Linked DNA regions of Homo sapiens: region 1 is linked to region 2. Evidence: promoter capture Hi-C in human tissues and cell types (Jung and others, 2019). All regions are on one chromosome and are shown on one strand. The core of a region is centred on a gene start or on the middle of the fragment in contact, and the rest is flanking DNA. Distances in the headings are between cores, read along the strand shown.

The links. The method cuts DNA at HindIII sites, captures the fragments that hold promoters and counts their contacts. A contact is called where the count stands out against the background at its distance.
Region 1: a fragment that was not itself captured here is called in contact with the fragment with the promoter of IRF6 in region 2 in 1 of the 25 tissues and cell types used here (H1 embryonic stem cells).

Annotation. Positions count from the first base shown.
Region 1 is chr1:210,383,451-210,387,796 of GRCh38, reverse strand. HHAT (hedgehog acyltransferase) reads right to left here. Exons shown (of 12, transcript NM_018194.6): 4 at 216-329. Among named protein-coding and RNA genes, the nearest start is that of HHAT, 57 kb to the right of the region's middle. The HindIII fragment of the contact is 5,842 bases long and covers 1-4,213 here.
Region 2 is chr1:209,804,393-209,808,770 of GRCh38, reverse strand. It overlaps IRF6 (interferon regulatory factor 6), which reads left to right and starts at 2,629. Exons shown (of 9, transcript NM_006147.4): 1 at 2,629-2,824. RefSeq lists a silencer at 2,364-2,707. The HindIII fragment of the contact is 7,591 bases long and covers 1-4,378 here.

The sequences.
Region 1 (4,346 bases), core at 43-2,542, 580 kb before region 2:
TATATTCAATGCCTGAAAATAAGTTGGAGAAAGCAAGTGCAGGATATGAACTATGAACTTTTATCTTAAATGTTATATTGATTGTTAACAACTTTATCATTTTTTCCAGGCTCCCAGTGCTAATATCCAAGTCTTCCGATTCCTAGCTTGGACTCTTTCTTCACAAGAAGCAAAGGAAAAACACACTTAAAAGGTAACAACACATATAATCATACCTTTCTTGCCAGCAGTGTGGCCATTTGAGACACTACCATGTGGCCAAGGAGAAGCCACACCAGCCACTGCTTCCCCCATTCCATCCAGAAGCTCCACTCAAAGTCGGTCGCATCCTAAATAGGACAAAATAGTTTATCAGAGGGATTTCAGTACACGTCTGAGTCAGAACACAAACTCCAGTTAATAAAACTGGAAAGAAGGCCAGTGTGAGTCCAAACTCTGTAAAAGAGGATTTACACACTTCTAGCCTTTCCCCACCCACCTGTACACTCCCCTCCAGCTTGCTATTAGTAATGGCAAAAACTGCAATTACTTTTGCACCAACCTAACCGGAATGATTGCCATTGCCATTCCCCAAATGCACCTCGGACTTTCTACAACTCAGTGTCTTTGTTACAGCTGATCTCCCAGGGCCCTCTGTAGTATAGATGCTATTATTATTTCCATTTTGCAAAACATGAAACAGAGACGTAAGGAACTCAATTCATTTACCCAAGTTCACAGGGATAGTACAAGTAATGAATTGAGGCTATCCCAGTTTAGACAACTAGATATTTTCACTGAGAAATGTAAACTGGACACTAATAAAATGGCTTAAAGTCAGTTATTCTGAGTCTTGTTGCCATTTACAGACAGAATAATTTGTCAGAGAAATTAACTAAGTTCATATAAATTTATAATGAAGGAATGAAAGGTACACTTCCCTTCCCCCCAAGAAGCTCTGTGTCCATGTGGCATTCTGTGTCTGCATCAGTACCAGGTTCCACATCTATGAAGCTCCCCAGGAGGAGAAGGTAGAAACCTCTGACAACAGTGGACATGTGGACGCTTAGGAACCAGCACCTCAAAGTCATGGCCTCAGGAGCCCCAGAAAGGACCACGGAGGCCAAGAGGAGCGTGGAGAGATGCACACTGTCATCGGTCACCCTGAAACAGGCAATGCAGGCTTGGCCAGTGAACAGTTCAGCACTACCAGGATGGAGGGGGATTTGAGGTCTCAGAATTTTCTAAGCAAAATGTGTGCCTGGAAAAGGACTCCTGCAGGCCGGGCGCGGTGGCTCACGCCTGTAATCCCAGCACTTTGGGAGGCCGAGGCGGGCGGATCACGAGGTCAGGAGATCGAGACCATCCCGGCTAAAACGGTGAAACCCCGTCTCTACTAAAAATACAAAAAATTAGCCGGGCGTAGTGGCGGGCGCCTGTAGTCCCAGCTACTTGGGAGGCTGAGGCAGGAGAATGGCGTGAACCCGGGAGGCGGAGCTTGCAGTGAGCCGAAATCCCGCCACTGCACTCCAGCCTGGGCGACAGAGCGAGACTCTGTCTCAAAAAAAAAAAAAAAAAAAAAAAAAAGAAAAAAAGAAAAGGACTCCTGCAATGACCACTGATATTGAACTCCTCACCAATCTCTGCAAGTGGAACTTGAAGCCTCTCTTAATTGGATTTGAAGAAAAGTGTGATTTTTTTGGTGTACCTAAGATTGTGGGGTAATGTCATACCAGTTGCACACAAATAAAACTCTTTTTTGCAGAAGGTAAGATACATATAAAATTGATCTTGATTCATAACAGACTATGAGTGCAAGGTAGCTAAGACTGGAGGCTTGTTTTGGGTCCAGAGCCCAGATCTACTCACACACTTGCTGTGATGACCTTGAACATGATTCTTAACCTTTCTGTTCTGTTTCTTCATATGACAATAGTACTTACCTTACAGGGATTTTTGAGGCTTAAATAAGAGCATATGTACATTAAAAGTTTGTAGCAGCACACAGTGCTATTAAACAGCAGTACCCGCTACTAACTGCTAGACCCATGTGCTTCCCATCCCTTGTAAACCACCAGCCAAGACCGTATCATGCTTTACTTTGTGCCACTCATTTTAAAAAAGTTTTCCCATTTCTTCAAATAAGGAAATACAATACTGCGCATTCTCAGATTACACATGCTCCCCACACCCCAGATCCTGATACATGACCTGCTCATAAAGCCCCTGTCCCTTGCTGGAAATCATGTATGTAGTTGAATTGCTTCCATTTAGAGATGACTACACCAGAGTCTGGGACATGCCCACAAACACACAGCCAGGCAGCACAGCAGAGAACTCAAAGCTTTAACCTGGCTCCTGATCCCTGATCCACAGCTTATTTCCCCATCTAGAGATTTCCAAATTAGCCAAGAGTCAATTAACTAAACAAATGTAAATAAGTTCAAAGGTCATGTGATGAGGCCATGCTAGTAAAATACCACTTTTATAACAGGGATACAGCTAAAAGACACAAAAGCCAAGACACTTTTTTAATACAAACTCAAAAAGAAAAAAAAAAAAAAAGAAAAACATATGAGCTTTTTAAATACAACATTTTTGAACACTTAGAATTACATTTAGAATTCATGACCCCAAGCTTACCTATGCCTCGAAACTTCTCCAAGTTTAATTTTTTAGGGTGGAAAAAAGGATATAATACAACAAAACATATAAGACTTTCTGTTCCACCAGAAAGTCCAGGACTCCTGAAAACTCTGCTGGTAAAATCCCATCAACAAAAATTACACATGGCCTTTCACCTCTAATTATCACAGAAAACATTCATTTAAAGGAAATAAAAATGTCTCTCTCATGTCTATTCTTCCCTATTTAAAAAAGTTACCTAAGGGAAATGACCAAACAGAAAAGCTGGGCCAATGAATAGGTCAAGATGATGTTTAATGATTTGGGTAAGAAAAATATTGACTCACTGCTTCTTGAAGCAAAAGCTTTATAGACTCTGAGCTCAGTCACACATTTCAAGGCAAACATGAAAGCCTGAAATCAGGAACAACATCATGATCTGTCCCTTCCCCCATTTTCTTTCTTGCCTCCATGGTTATTAGTCAATTAGGAACCTCTTCTTTGGCACTCTAAGGGGGTCAGATATAAACTGGAGCTAAATCTCAGCCAGGCAGAACTAGGCAGGCTTCTCCATGGAAGCAGGGAGGCTGTACTCCAAGGAGAAGTCACCCACATCCAACCTCAAAGTGGACACAAGCCACCTATGCATCTTGCTAAAATGCAGATTCTGATGCAGTCAATCAAGGGTGGGGCCTGGGATTCTATATTTCTAACAAGCTTCCAGGTGATGTGATACTACCAGCCTGGGGACCAATCTACATGACTGATTATGCCTTCCTACAGCTGAATGTTCATAAACTCACAGAATCCTTAACAGCTCAGCCCGCCCCGTACCATTCCCAGGCAGGGAGGGCACATACTCCGAAGCTGCTACCTAACACTCACCAACAGAGCAGTCATCCTCCCGTTCACCGTTCAAAGCTCTGGGCACCCAGACTTCGGAATTCACTGAACAAGTTAACAAATGTGGTTGTTTATTCTGAGGCTTACATTCTGCTACCAGGTAATACTAAGGACTCTGAGAGACATGATTGTTCTGGGTTTCTTAAATAGTAACTCTAACGTCCTAGCAAAACACTTTTTCCTTTCTTAACAAAGGAAAGGGTCTGGGCCTAGTGTTTGTAACTGCCTCTTTTCCTACCCACAGCAGAGTTCTGCTCTAGGCACCATGAGGAGCTCAAAGTCTAAATAGGAAGACCCCCAGCACCAAGACCACCACACCCCACAATGAAGACACACCAAAAACCCACTGCAGAATGAGAGGGGTAACAGTGCTGCAACTCAACTTCATATGTCAGTGAAACTGACAGACCTGTCCTTTCTTCCCAGTCACTGATGAACACTCGAGTATGTGTTTTCTAATTACAGCCTCATAACAATCTTTAAAGTAGCTCAATTTGTTTAACAGACCTTATCTTTTAGAGAGTTTTCAGTTCACAGAAGAATTAAGCACAATGTACAGAGAATTCCCATAGACCCCTTAACCCCTCTCCATCAGCATCTCCCACCACAGTAATATATTTGTTCCAACTGGTGAACCTACATTGATACCCCAAAGTCCATGGTTTATATTCGGGTTCACTCTTGATGTTGCATATTCTATGGGTTTGGACAGATGTATAAAAACACATATCCACCATTATCATATCATATGAAATAGTTTCACTGCCCTAAAAATCCTCTGTACTCTACCTCTTCATCCCTCCCACCCTGGCCCTGCTCCCCTCAATCCCTGGCAAACA
Region 2 (4,378 bases), core at 1,380-3,879:
GGGCAACTGTTGCCAGGTAGAACTGCTGGTAGAGCATCCAGGGCACTTGACTCTTTAAGAGATGCTGAGAATTTTGATGTTTATGTGATACCTCCTGATATTTAAAATACTGTGTGGGTAAAAACTGGCTAAGTCAGTTTTAGTCTTGATCTAGATAGTCCAGAAGAACCCTCCCAGCTTGAGTTTTCTGATTCCAAAATATATGTCTTCTAAAGAAGGTCCTTAAGACATCCCCTTAGTCATGGGAATTTCAGCTGGTGCAAAAGTGAGTGCCTGTGTGTGGGCTCATACTTGTATGCCACTGGGGTTTTGACTCCCCTCAAATGACACTCTCCCAATGGCCTTACCCCTCATCCCTCTCATACACCTGCAGTGGAGCTTGTTTGGTCCCCAGAGCCCAGCCCTGGGCCAGATGGAAGATGCTGTTTGTCTAGTGAGCTCATCAGCAGTAAACAGCTAGCTGTGCTGATGAGCTTGCCCTTCCCCCAGTGAAGGGAAGAGTGGCCACAGGGCAGTGGTTGAGACAGAGGCTGGCTGAGTCAGGCCTTGGGGCCTTGCTGCCTTCCCAGGCCTTTGCTGGCTACATTCCAAAGCTAAATTGGGACTTGGAATCATGCCTACATTATTATCAATCTGGGGCTCTTCAACACACTTGTATGAGTATGCTAGGGCTACCATAACAATGTACCTCAGAGTGGGTGGCTTGAACAACAGAAATTTTTTGTTTCATAGTTCTGGAGTTTAAAAGTCTAAAATCAAGGGTCTGAGGGATGTGAAAAAAAAAAAAAAAAAAAGAGCTCTATTCCAGGTATCTCTCCTTGGGTTGCAGCTAGCTGTCTTCTCTTTATGTCTCTTCATATCACCTTCCCTCTGTGGGTATCTGCCTCTGTGTCCAAATCTCCTCCTTTTATAAGGACACCATTCATATTGGATTCAGGCTCACCCTAATAACCACGTTTTAACTTGATTACCTCCATAAGGATCCTGTCTCCCAATAAGGTCATATTCTGACATCTGGCTGTGGTTGCAGTGGGGGTGGTCAGGACTTCAAAATACAAATACAAATTTTTTTGTATGTGGGTGACAGTTCAACTCATTGTACCACTCCTCCACAGTTTCTCACTCATTACTTTAAACACCAAAACCTAAGTGACCTGCGCATGCCCCATTTCACCTACGACAGCTCAGTGGTTGAGGGTGGGGGATTTTTAAAAGTCTCATTTACTGTTGCACAGCCTCCTGCAAACCGGTCCTCTAGATAGATGAGGAAGGTGAGGGCAATCTCATCAAGCACCTGTTAGGGTACATGCAGGACTTGAATTTCAGGTAATAACAAGGAATGCCTTCTTGTTCTCTGACGCACTGTCTATATGGTATTTTTAATCTTTATGCCAATAATAATTGCAAGTACATATAAAGCACTTGATAAGTGCTAAATATTGTTGCAAGCAGTTTACATGTAGTTATTGAATTCCCACAATACCCCTGAGGTAGGTACTATTACTAACCTCTTTCTACAGATAAGACACCAGGGCCTAAAAAGCTTAAGAAACTTTCCCAAGTCTGTAGTAACTGATGGAGTTGGGGTCTAAACCCCAATAGTTGGCTCCAGAGGCTATGCTTTTACTCATTACACGATAGTGATCAGAGGAAGCAGGAACTCCAGTCTGGGCAACATAGTCAGACCCTGTCTCTAAAAAAAAAAAAAAAAAATTAGCCGGGCATGGTGACCCATGCCTATATTTCCAGTTACTTGGGAGGGTGAGGTGGGATAATTGCTTGAGCCCAGGAGGTTGAGCTATGATTGTGCCACTGCATTCTAGCCTGGATGACAGAGCCAGACCCTGCCTAAAAAAAAAAAAAAAAAAAAAAAAAGGAATTGAACTGGGTGCCAGTGCCTGTAATCCCAGCACTTTGCGAGGCTGAGGCGGATCCCTTGAGCCCAGGTGTTGCAGACCAGACTGTGTAACTTAATAGCAAGACCCCATCTCCAAAAAAAAAAAAAAAAAAAAAGGAAGAAAAAAGAAAGAGAAAAAAGCAAACAACAACAAAAAAGAAGGAAGGAATTATTATTCTCATTGAAGAGATGAGGAAACTGAAACCAAGAAGCCAAGAAGCTAAGTAACTTACCCAGGGTCACACGGGTAAGAGGCAGAGTAAAGGTAGAATTCTAGTCCTGAAAGCCTATGGCTTCTCCCAGACAGGACCAAGTGTCCTGGTTCTCTTCTTCATGTGCAACTCCACTTACACAGGCCCACGAGTAGTAGGGCCAACCCAGAATCTCAAAACCCTTATTTGTGCTTAACTGTCTGCATACTGCAGGGTAATTATGGGCCGTGAAGGAGGGAGGCACCCTCTCGACTTAGATCTGAACTCCCAGTCGCTTCCAGTTCCCAGGACCACCAGCCCTGAGCCGTAAGGCTAGGCCTGAATCTGGGACTTTCTTAGCCGGAGTTAGAAGCGGAGGAGTAGGGTGGGACGCTGGACGGACGCCGCTGGGCCGGGCAGCCCAGAAACGCGGAGTGTCATATTTCTTGCAACTCGCCAATCCCGAACGCCGGGGGGCGTGGCCACACCTGGGAGGCGTGGCCGGGCGGATGCGAAGGCTGCGGCGTCCTGGGGCGAGGCGCTGACGTGAGCTCGGCGCACCTGGGCTGGGCAGGTAAGGGCTGGTGCGGGACGGGGAGAGGAACCTGCAGTCCCTACTTGGGTAGAGCCAGGCGCCCCTTGGCTAAGACGTCGAGGAGCGTGGTAGCGACGGGTGATCTTCGCTGCGGACTTGGTTCGGAGGGACGTCCGCTTCTGGTGGACAGATTGAGCAAAGGTGGGTACGCCAACTTCTGGGGACCAGCTTGAGGGAGGAGAGGCTCCCCCGTGGGTGGGGTAGGACCCATCCCCGGAGTTTGTAGGGGGTGAGAGAACTTGCTTGGGGGCATCTGTGTGTTTGGGGTGGGTACCCACTGGGGCTGGGTGCCTGTCGCCCTTTTCCAGATAGCTTTGGGGCGGCCTCAGTTCTGTAGCGCTAGGCCCCTCTCGAATCTACACTTGTGTCTACTCTCCCTACCCCCACCGCCGAAGCGGAGGGCACTGCTCTCGGCCGTCAACAACCCCACTATCCGGTAGAGCTAAAGCACCGCGCCCCCTTCAGTCTTACCAACTTGCGGCTGGCCCCTGTGTCCCAGAGAGGGGACTTCCCAGGTCCGCAGGTCCTTGATCCTAGTGGGCGTTTTGGGAAACTGGAGTGAGGGTGGCCAGGAGCTTTGGAGCATTGGCGGTTTGTCTTCCCTCCCTGAGTCTGTTTGGCACAGTTAGGCCCTTCGCCCTGGGCCTGGGAGACAACCTTGGATTTCCAAGGAGCGGAGCTAGGTGCTGGGGAGGGTGGCGCTGGGGTGTGGTTGCTCTGGGGGTGGGCCCTCTTTGCCCGAAGGGGCTGGAGGGTGGTGTGGAGAATGGGGAAAGTCTCCCAGGCCTGACTTGGAAAGGAGGCCTGAGGTGTCACTCTTTACAGGGAGCCTGCTTTGTGGTAAAGGGGTCATCCTGTTCCAACCTGTTCTCTTGGTGGATGTCAAGAGTGGAAGTCAGGGAAAAGAGATGGATAGAGAGAGGAAGGCGCTTGGGTGGGATTGGTGAAAGCTGGTGTTGACCCAGGAGTGTGGTTTAGGATGAGACGTGTGTATGATGTATGACAGTGGCACTCAATACCTTGTAACTCCCATTCGCCATCCCCCAGCTTCCATCCAGCAGAAGGGAAGGGTGTGGGCATTTTGACTAGAGGCCTGCAGTTTACCCCTAAGCAGGGCTAAACAGGGAAGCCTGAGGAACGGAACTTAGACGATGGCATTTCATTTCTTTCAGGAGAAAGGGAAGAGCTGGGACTGCTAAGAATTGTCTGCGAGAAATGGCGTGTGTTTTAACCTGAGCAAAACCACTGACGGCCAAATCTCGGCTTTTGTGTGGCAGTGCCCCTGGAAACTAGTCTGGGGAGGAGCTATGGAGGTGGCAATGAGGGTGTTTATGGAGGACCTGCTCCCTAGAATAGGGGTATGGGAGAGGACAGTTATGCTCGGAGGAGGCTGAAAGTGTCCCTCCTCTATGCTCACTGTGAGGGGAATAGATAGGTTAGCATCATTGTCCTTTGGCTGTTTAAGTACCTGTTAGAGACACAGGCCTTACATTTTGCTGTGATGGCAGCTAGAGATACCAAGATGAGTTCAACTAGGCTAAGGTGGTTCTTCAGGCGTTGGGATTTGGGTGGCAAGAGTGTTTAGAAAGAGAACTCTGATTTAGGTGTGTTTGAGAGTGGATGTTATGCAGTCTCCACCTCAATCACTTTATTGGCCCTCTATGCTGCTGGGATCTTTGTTGATGTTTTTAGTTT